Linked DNA regions of Homo sapiens: regions 1 and 2 are each linked to region 3. The links are contacts of gene promoters, found by promoter capture Hi-C in blood cells and fetal thymus (Javierre and others, 2016). All regions are on one chromosome and are shown on one strand. The core of a region is centred on a gene start or on the middle of the fragment in contact, and the rest is flanking DNA. Distances in the headings are between cores, read along the strand shown.

The links. The method cuts DNA at HindIII sites, captures the fragments that hold promoters and counts their contacts. A CHiCAGO score of 5 or more calls a contact.
Region 1: a contact is called between a fragment that was not itself captured here and the fragment with the promoter of NFE2L3 in region 3, in 2 of 17 cell types (fetal thymus and non-activated CD4 T cells). The highest score is 7.9, in fetal thymus.
Region 2: a contact is called between a fragment that was not itself captured here and the fragment with the promoter of NFE2L3 in region 3, in 16 of 17 cell types (megakaryocytes, fetal thymus, M2 macrophages and 13 more). The highest score is 16.3, in megakaryocytes.

The regions. Positions count from the first base shown.
Region 1 is chr7:25,857,922-25,861,319 of GRCh38, reverse strand. No RefSeq gene overlaps it. Among named protein-coding and RNA genes, the nearest start is that of LINC03007, 70 kb to the right of the region's middle. The HindIII fragment of the contact is 9,868 bases long and covers 1-3,398 here.
Region 2 is chr7:25,893,324-25,896,637 of GRCh38, reverse strand. No RefSeq gene overlaps it. Among named protein-coding and RNA genes, the nearest start is that of MIR148A, 55 kb to the left of the region's middle. RefSeq lists an enhancer at 1,289-1,378. The HindIII fragment of the contact is 3,429 bases long and covers 58-3,314 here.
Region 3 is chr7:26,150,820-26,153,947 of GRCh38, reverse strand. It overlaps NFE2L3 (NFE2 like bZIP transcription factor 3), which reads right to left and starts at 1,750. Exons shown (of 4, transcript NM_004289.7): 1 at 880-1,750. The coding sequence starts at 1,449. RefSeq lists enhancers at 662-851, 202-995, 996-1,790 and silencers at 972-1,041, 1,052-1,301, 1,412-1,481, 1,492-1,561, 1,582-1,961. The HindIII fragment of the contact is 3,470 bases long and covers 1-3,128 here.

The sequences.
Region 1 (3,398 bases), core at 559-3,058, 290 kb after region 3:
TGACCGCCTAAGGCCACTCCATAGACTCCTAAATATCTGTGAACTCCGGTATCAGAACCCACACCTTAAGGAAATGTCTTTCATATTTTGAGTTGTGTTCGGTTGTGTTATTCCGAGGCCAAAATATAATCTTCTAAGCACCTACGGGGTTGGACCAGAGCCTCTCTCTTCGTGACAAAGACCCCCTTTGGAAACCTCCCGCAGCAACTTCTCACCCCAATAAATTAAATGCAGCCGCAGTGTGGTCCATTACACTGGAGTGTGAGGTGACGGCCCCTGTCAAAGGTGAACGGCCCAGTACAGCCCCTTAAATATTCCTACAGATAATAAATATCTGTGTAAGGAAGGGATGTAAAAGTTTCCTATTCGTTTGGAAAGCTCGGTACTACAACAATGAATAAACATTGCAGACTGATGAATGCCCCCAAGTCCCTCCACAGAGGCGGCGGGGAGAGAACCAGATCTTAAAAAATTTTTCACTCTAGGCCTGGAGGCCGGGTGCTGCGGCCACCCGTGCCTCGACGTGTTCCTCCGCACGGGCTCTAGGAATGTAAATACCACGAGTTGAGACAGGTCTGGGCCCCGGACAGAGCGGTCCGTGGTTTTAGCAATTCATTTTAATTCCGAAGCGGTCCAGTGCATTTGCTTTCACTTGGTTGCGCGGGGCTGGAATTGATAAGAGAGAAAACCATGTACTTGTCCTTGTGGGTTGGGAAACAGGGTCACTGAATCCTGGGCTGGCTCTCACAGCTTCCTGGCAGAGTTCACACACGCACTCAGAGGCTGCGCCAGCCCTGTACCGCAGGACTGCGGGCGCTCCCTTGCCGGCACTCCTCCTTCGGTTCAGAAACCAAAGTGGAAACGCATGGATCAAGTTGCAGGGAAGTCTGACATCTGGGACAGATGTTGCTCCTCTGCCCGTGGCGGTTCCTCAGATAAATCCTCATTGCTTTATTTTAATTTGCCTTTGAATTTCGTTATTTTTGCCTCAATGCAACACATAGTCTTTTTTTTTTCTGCTTTATTTAACTCTCACGGTCCTCTGCGCTATTTTTATCAATGGTATAACTTTATTTTGGGAAAGGGATTATTTCCCCCTCAGAAATGGGGGGAAATAATCAAATCTCCAGTCAATTATGTCTTGAAATTTAACTCTGCTTTTACTGGTCCATCATAAAACATTTAAACCGTTAAAAACATGTCCCTCACTGATCAACTTTAGTTGTTTTGTGTTTTAAAACATGGAAATACAACCCCTGTGTGTGTATGTCACATTACGGACAGACCATATTAATCTCTTTCTCACAGAAAAAACATCTGCGTGTGTGAGTCTAAGTAATTATTCATCTAGGGTAACAAATTCTAGAAGGCTTGACCTACCTTCCTTCCTCCCTTCCTTCCTCCCTTCCTTCCTTCTTTCCTTCCTTCCTTCCTTTTTCTTTTCCTTTCTCTTTTTCTTTTTTTGTGCTTCTTTGTATCTAATACCCAGGGGCATTAACAACATCTCCTCTGCCTCGTCTTCCCGTGTGTAGAGGGACCCGTCTCACGTCCAACAATAGATACCCCTTTTATTATATATTTTTCCTTTTGTTTTTCTTGACCAACAATTTCCCTTCAGTTATTTATTTTAGCTGGGTAACCCCAAGCTATATGCTCCGTGTAAACCAGAATGGTGTGGTCGGTTTTGTGACAGGTAGTGGCTTCCTGAGCTGGCTCTGATGCGCACCTCTGAGGCGAGCCAAGGCGGAAACTGTCATTCCTAGAGGAAAGCGATGCCCGTCTGGGAAGAATCTGGGAAACCCCAGCATTCCTATGAGCTGCGGCCCACTAAGCGCCCCTGACCGCAGTGATCACTGTCTCCTAGATTTTTTGACAATGTTGTTTTGCTTTGTTTTAAAATATTATCGTTACTGCTGAGAAACGTGGACTCTTATGATGAAGACCTGCCGGGCCTTCCCCAGCCATTTCACTCCCTGGCCTCCTCCAAGATGGCTTTCATTTAGGGAGGGTCAGACTCATCTAGGTGACATTTCCCCGAGCCTTTCAGTCAAGTTGGTCTACAAATTCACCAAATTAGTGCTTGGTCTACATCTAGGGCTTCCTGCACGGAAAGGCCAATAGAAAAGTCCACGACTTGACTTTTACGCCACATCACTACAGCCACAAAACGGGGACCTCCTCGGGACTGGAGGCGGATCCTCCACGGGTCCCCGGCCAGGCCCATCCTCCTCGCAGCGCGCCTGGTGCGGCCGTACCAATTCCGCGCCGTGCAGCCTGGAGTTACAGGCCCCGACCGAGCCAAGATCTGAGGCTGCCGGGCCCTCCCTGTTTACTGGGGGCTCTGCTACCGGAAGTCATTTGACAAATCTCAGGCAGGCCTTTCTAATCTTTACTGCTCGGCAGAGCTTTGCAAATCTCTAAACACGCTGTAACCTTCTTCAAACAGCACGCCAGACACACTTGAAGGTTTTTTTTTTTTTTTTGAGGCCGGACGGAATGGAAACTGCATCTGCACGGGATCTCTCCACAGTCTGGCCCGCAACACTGCCAGCACCTTCCCTAGACCCTCGCCTCCCCGCTTCCCCCGCACGCGGATTCTCGCGCATCCGTGCGCCCACTCAGCCCCGGGAGCCCTCCTGCCCCGGGAAGCCTCAGACGGTCTTGGGCTGGAGACTCACCCTGCGCCCCTGCAGCGGGCTGCGGGGAGAGAACCTTGGGGAACCAGGCAGGACCGGCAAGGGTGGACCGAGTGATTTATGACCCTGATCAAACTTTTTAGGAAGCAGAAATTAACCTGAGGGAGATTAGGCCTGAGCTTTGAAGTTCACGGTTTTGTTTTCCTTCAGCCCAGTTCTGCCATCAGATGGTTCTTGGTTCCTTCTACCCCTCTCCTCCTCCCCCTCCTTCGGTCTCTCGTCACCCCACTTTATCCTCCAGCAACCCCTCCTGCGTTGATTTTCTTAATTTCAAATACAAATATCTGAACACCAGAAACTGAAGTTCCTGACAGTGACCTATTGAACAGAGGCATCGCATACTCCCTACATCCCAGTCTTCTTGGAATTGCGTTTTACGTTTGAAAGTGCGATTTTGGTTTGGAGGTCGGGAGTAGAAAATTTGTATCTGTTCTTTTCTTTTGCTGTTTCCTACTTGCCTTTCAATACCCATACTTATTCCGCCCTCGGAGACTGGCCCTTCCCGGCAGAGCAGAAGCGCACGAGGGTTGAGTAACTCTGCAGGTGAGAGCTAATTTTTCAGCGCATCCACCAGATACCTCAGGTTTGTGGATTTTCCCCCTAGTTGGCCAGAAAACTCACACCCAAACATGCAAGTCCTCTATGGCCTCTCCGTCCTCTTACCTTGGCCCTCTTTATTTCCATATCTCCCTCCTCCCCATG
Region 2 (3,314 bases), core at 523-3,022, 260 kb after region 3:
ATAGATCTTCACGTTTAAGTACCTACAAATAACTGTCCATTTGTGAATGGTTAAGCTTAATCCATTATTTTTCCTATAAGCAAGATAACCTCTTTCATAAATAGATATCTACAAATAATACTTAGAGCAGTTTAACTCTTAGATATAATAATGCCACAGTATGTAGAAAACGAAATAGGCTTACAAAAATAAAGCTAAATAGTTTATCCTTTTTTTGACCTTCACAAATGTAAGTGTTCTATCTATGGCTCTATAAATTGTTTAAATCCTTTAATGATGCAAATGCGCTGATAATGTTCCTATACTTGCTGGAACTATGGTTCTGTTAATATTTTGAAAATTACTTTAATTAACCTTATCTCATTTTGTAGTAGTTATAGAACACTTTTATATTTTTTAACTGTGCACTAATTTGTTTCATCATTAACCTTGGGTTTTACCCTTGGTAATTATGGTAATTCATAATTTGGGTTGTGTCAGGTGCTAGTGGATTCAAACAATACATATTGTGGGAACCATCAATAGCTTTGGTAGTCAGGATTCTTTAGTTTGCAGGGGACAGAAAAAAGGCTTGGCAGGCTGGAGGGTAGAGGGGCAGGGTTCCGCAGAAGATTCCCAGGAATGGTTTTTAGTTGGCCAAGGACTCTGGTGGAGGAAGGGGGATGCTGAGTGGCCTAGGTCAGGCACTTACCCGACCCTCCCTAACTCCTCCTTCTGAAATCAGAGAGGGAGGAATCTGTGATAGAAGAAGGAGGAAAAGGAATGGATAGCCCCAAACACTGCGCACTATAATAGTTAATCATATTGATAGTGAGCGCGCGGTCTCTCTCTCTCTTTCTCTCCAGGCAGCCAAAGACTGCCACCATATGCAACTGGGTCCTGCATTTTTCATCTGCATCACCAATTTGTCACTCGAAAACCCAGGTCTCAATCCTCCCTGATTTTTCCAGAAACACCACTAGTATCCAATTCAGTAGGTCCCTATCATGGGCAGTGCGGGGGCGCCGGGCGTGGGCGACGCTCGTGTGTGACTCGCAGCTGGGCAGCCATCCCCGCGGGCGTCCTGGCTCCCCTTCCCTCTGAAAGCGCCGGGGCGGGCCAGCAGGGGGCGAGTTTCATTTCCGCACCGGAGACCCAGCCGGAATCACAAATGCCGCGAACTACACCCTCCTTTCCTGATCTGGCCAGGAGTCTGTGTCATTAAAACTCTCAGTTCTGCTTTTCCCTATATTAACATTATCTTCATTTTGAGCACATCACGTTCAGTGACAGAAAAGGAGATCCCATGAGTCACTGGAGGTAGACTTAAAATAGCTTAAGGATGATATTTCATGGATGTTAGTGACATCAGTCGAAGAAGCAGTGCTTTCAAAGAGCAGAATTCCTCATATTCACTCTTCGGATACCCAGCAGTTTTCCAGGTCTTGGTCTATACCCAGCCTTTTTCTTGGAGGAAGGTGCTCATCTTCCCACACAGGCTACACAGGGGGCAGGGAAAGTTGGGACAGGTGGCACAAGGCCATGTGAAGCCCCCCGTCCTCCTGCCGGGGCATCTTACATATTGCTGCCACTGCCGAGGGGGCATATCTGTGTATAGCTGCCCAGCAGAGTACAGGGAAGGTGTTATGTGGGAAGGAAGACTCCTGGGTGGGTAGGAGTTTGGGCTAAGTCCCTCCTGGTCCAGGTAACTTAGCTGGCCCCTGCAGATATGAGTGGTGGGAGACGGGATCCGGCGGGTGAGAGAGGGGAACCACAGAACCACAGGCTTTTCTCAGGTCGGGGAAAGACCTTAGAGATCACTTAGCTCAATGTCTTCTTTTCCTGACGCCCAGGGAAATTGTGAACAAATTCACCACCACAGAACTAGGCAAGTCCCCTGGTGGGCAAATGGACACCTTCACAGAAGCCATTTTCTTTCCTTGTGTATTATGTATCAAAGGCTAACTGTTTAACAAGCAACCCCGTGTCACAGTGGCTTAACACAAAACAAGTTATTTCTTGCTCTTGGACCACTGAAAGCGTTTCTTGGACAGCTTCCATGCAGTGATTCAGGGACCCAGGCACCTTTCATTCTGTGGCCCCACCATCCCTAAGGGCCTTAATGTTTGCTGCTGAGTACTCTGCATCTGGCTGTGACAGGTAGAGAGAGAGAATGAAGGACTGTGCAGGAGGTGGGCAGGCCTCACTGCCACTCACATTCCACTAGCTAGACGCCACTCTCAGGGCCAACCTTCCCCCAAGGGGAGCTGGGAAATGTAGTCCAGCTGTGTGCACAGGAAGCAGATAGGATGGCTCGGGGCAAGCACACAGCAGTGTCTGCCTCACCTATCTTCAAAGAAAACAGTCTTTGAGTTCTTTTGGGTTATTTACACTGGGTAGCAGAAGGCACATGATCTTTGGAGGTGGACAGACTTGGGTTTGGATATTGGCAGTGTGACCTTGGGCAAAGAAGTAACCTTTAGCCTCAGTTTGCTCAGCTGGTAAATGGGGCTATCTTGTGGGTATTACCTGAGGTAAGGAATGTAACTTGTCTATGTTACCACGTGGTCTCACATGTTTGTTTGTACAAACCAATGGGGCTGGGAGTATTGTTGGGGGAGGAGGAAACAGACTTCCTGTGTCCCATTTCCCCCACTCTGGATGGCAGCACTGCCCAACAGCTTCATTAGACGCCAAGAGTGGTGGCACTTTCTTCTGTCACTTGTTAAATTTCGATGTAGTTCATTCTAATCAATATGGGACTTTGGAAGGAAAAAAAGCATTCCCCAAACCCACAAGCAACCATTTTATTTGATTCATAAAAATTCAGTCACTGAGAAGGCAGTTCCAGCAAGAGAGTTTTGATCCTTCTTGCTCAGGCTGAGATGGTCACATCTAGAAAGCAGTGATTTTAAAATCCTATTTTCTTCTGAAAAAAAAAAAAATTTTTCTGAAGGGCAGTGAAAAGAGAAATAATCTAAGCTGAAGTGTCACTTTTCACTTATGGATATTGATGCTCTAAGACTAAATCTGGCTGACAGGAGTAAAGAGAACTGCCTTCTCATCATGGGTGAGACCCTGCAGGGTGAGATGTGGCTCAGGTATCATGGTGTGCCCAGGGACTGGCACATTAGGGGCTTCAATAAATATTTGCTGGTTAAATTAATAGGTGATTGAAGACAGTTACAGAAGTAATAACAACGAAAACAATTTTTTGGCCTGAAACGTCACTTTTTTTTTTTTTTTTTTGCGGGGTGGGTGGAGGGGAGGCAGTGGAATCCTGCATTTTAGTTTTTGGATTCCCTGAATGGTTTCTTCAATCATAAATGTTTGCT
Region 3 (3,128 bases), core at 501-3,000:
TTGCAAACACTAAAGTTTGAGCCAAGACAGAATTTTAAAAGTCCCCTGGAAGGAACTTTGGGTAAAGTGGTTTTGTGGAAACTGGTGTTAAAGTGTCATTAGACTGAACTCAAACGTTCCATGGGGAGCACCAGATGTTTCAAGCAACAGATCTTGGTAAACTTGGTTTCAGAAAGAAGTTAAGCCAGAGAAGGGTTTGGACCCATAAACCAAAGGGAACTTGTTAGTCACTAAGTGACTGCCAAGGTACCTGTTTTCGTTATGCTAATAAGAGGTTACACAAATTCCAGGAAGGAGGATTGCTAGGTGCAGGGGATGGTTAGGTCACAGGGGGACCGCCTGCCGGCTGGCCTCTGAATAGACCCTGACCATGGCTCCTTAATCCAGGGAAGCAGCAAAAACGAACAGCAATTGGGCTGAAAACAGGGCGAAGGTCCTTGCGTTAGGCCGGGAGAGTCGTTCTTAAAAACATGCATCCTCCCAGAGGTCACGGCCTCCTTCACATCGTCCAGGTCGGGCACGGGTCCCAGAGAACGACACCCCAGTGTACATGAGGTACTGAGCGAAGACAGTGGGCATTGCTTCTCCCCTCCCCATCCCCGAACTACTCTTGCCAGCCATCACACACAAGGAAAGGTATTCTCTATAACCAAACGGATGATTTCGTCCACTTCTTCCTTAAACACCTAAAAACCACAGCGACAGCACTAGTAGCCCTTCATTCGGAATCAGAGCAGCAGCATCTGCGAACCTGCAAAGACCAGGGGCTAAGGGTGCCAGGACACAGCGAGAGTGGCCCCTGCTCAGATCCGACACAAGCCTCGGGGGCTCCCGGCGGCGTAGACGCCGCACTTCGCTCGCTTCCCGCTCTGCACCTACCTCGCTCGCACATCCGCCAGCGTCCGGCACCTGAGCCGTCGGTTCCGCGGGTGCCTTCTCCTCTTCCCCGGCGTCCAAGGGGCCACTCCGAGCCGCTCGGGGGTCCCCGCCGCCCCCCTGCACAGCCTGGCTGCCGCCGTCCACGCTGGCGCCGGCTCCTCCGGTGGACGAGGCGGCGGCGGCGCCGAGCAGCCCGTGGGCCTCGTCCGCGCTCCCGGCAGCCACGCTGTGCACCAGCCATGCATCCACGCTGGTGCGAGGGACGAAGGGGACCCCGAGCGCGCGCACCTCCCGGAGCAGCTGGCCCTCGGGCGGCGCGGCAGGGTCCAGCTCCCGGCCCTTGGGGTGCAAGTGGCCCGCGCGCCCCCACCCTCCCGAGGCCGAGAAGGGGCTGAGCGCGTAGGCGGAGCTGGCCGGGCCGCCCAGGAACAGCAGCTCGTCCTGCAGCAGGGTGGGCGGCGGCAGCAGCAGGTAAAGATCTAGGTCTACGCGGAGCCCCGCCAAGCTCAGCAGGAGGGTGAGGTGCAGGAGGCCGCCGCCGGCCGACCACCACCGCTTCAGGTGCTTCATCGCCGCCGCGCGCCCGGGAACGCCCCTGCCGGCGCCCGCGGGTCCCGGCGCCCCAGCCGCCGGGGTGACACGTGCGGACCCCGCGCGCCGCCCGCACCTGCCTGGAACCCAGATAAGCGAAACAATGGACCGGGGCGCGTGGCGGCCGTCGCGGGTTCCCAGCACCGGGCACAAAGGCGTTCCCTCGGCAGCCGGCACCGTGCCTGGCACCGCCGGGGATCGGGAGAAGCGAAGAAGGAGCCACCTGAGCGCCGAGCCCGTTCGCCCAGCCGCCCGCAGCCCGGCGCGGTGGCCAAGCTCCGCCCCCGGCCGCGGGCGCAGCCGACAGGAACACGCCCCCTGCCGCCCGGGGCCCGCGCCCGTGGGAGGGGCCGCACGGGGCGGGGCTCCCCGAGCTCAAAGCCTCTTTATGTCCGGGGAACGCAAGGCTTTCTGGGAGCAGAAGTTGTTCTGGGCACCAAGTGGCCCCTTGCCACCCTGTGGCCGTGAGCTGGGCCATCCTTGCTGAAAGCCAAGGGCGGGAGTTGGGGTGGAGGGCTAGGTGGTGGGTAGCTGGGTGGGAAGGGACAGGATGTGTAGACTGGGCGGAGAGTGACTGGGCAGCTACGAGGGGCCTGGCAGCTTGCAACGGGCTTCCACCCCAACGTGAGGACACTTGGCGGGCAGAGTGGGCAAGAGTAACCTCTCTGTCTCAGTTCCGCTATCTGTAAAATGGGGATCATAGAGCCTGTCAAACAGGGATGTGTTGAGGTCAGATGAAATATTTCGTGTAAAGTTCGGAGTTTCACATATAAATTCCACCGTTGCCATTGGGATCAGTCATCCCACCACTCCGCACACCCCAGTCCCAGCCTCACAGACCCCTCTCTCTTCTCTGGGCGTGCTCTGCATAGTGCTAGACCTCCTCTCGGTATCCTTTGCTCCTTATCCGTTGTTTCCTTGAGGGTTGACAGCACCAGCTCTACAGTTACCCTGAGTGAGTTCAAGTCCCCCCTCCACTTGAGGGGCGACCTTGGACAAATCTCTCCTTTTCTCTGTGCCTCAGTTTTCTCACTGTAAAATGAGACTAATAATAGCACCTCCCCAGCAGACCTTTTGTGAGCCCCAAATGAGATAATGCATGTAAACCACCGACCACAGCACTGCATGGGTAGGAAGTGCTCCCTGCTACCCATTGTTTGTGTTACTCACCCTCAAGGCTTAGCTCCAAAGCTACATCCTCTGAATTTTCACCAGTTGGCATTAATCTCTCCCCCATCTGTTGCACCGTGATTTCTCCGTTTGCCAACATTGTAACAGTTGGCCCATTCAACTCTGTGTTGTAGATGAGAATCGGTCTGATTTGCCCATTGTAAATTCTTGAGGACAAGGAACCTGTTTGGTTCACCTTTGTCCATGCACAGTACCCAGCACTGGGCCTTGCAAGGGTAGGTTTTACTAACCTTAGCTCCCTTCCTTGGAAGAAAAGGGGACAGGAGGGGATGCCCAACTGAGAATGGGCAGTTGTGTAAAAAGTTGAGCAAGACTTGTTTTAAAAGGCCCCTCCCTCCACCTGGCTTTCTCATCTCTCTCCTGGGCTAGTGTAGTAAGAAGAGAAAAGAATGGGGACCAGGGGAGCAGAAACAGGGGAGCAGAGGAAAGTTGCTTCCTCTGTGTTAAGCCTTGGAAGATGGGTTGGG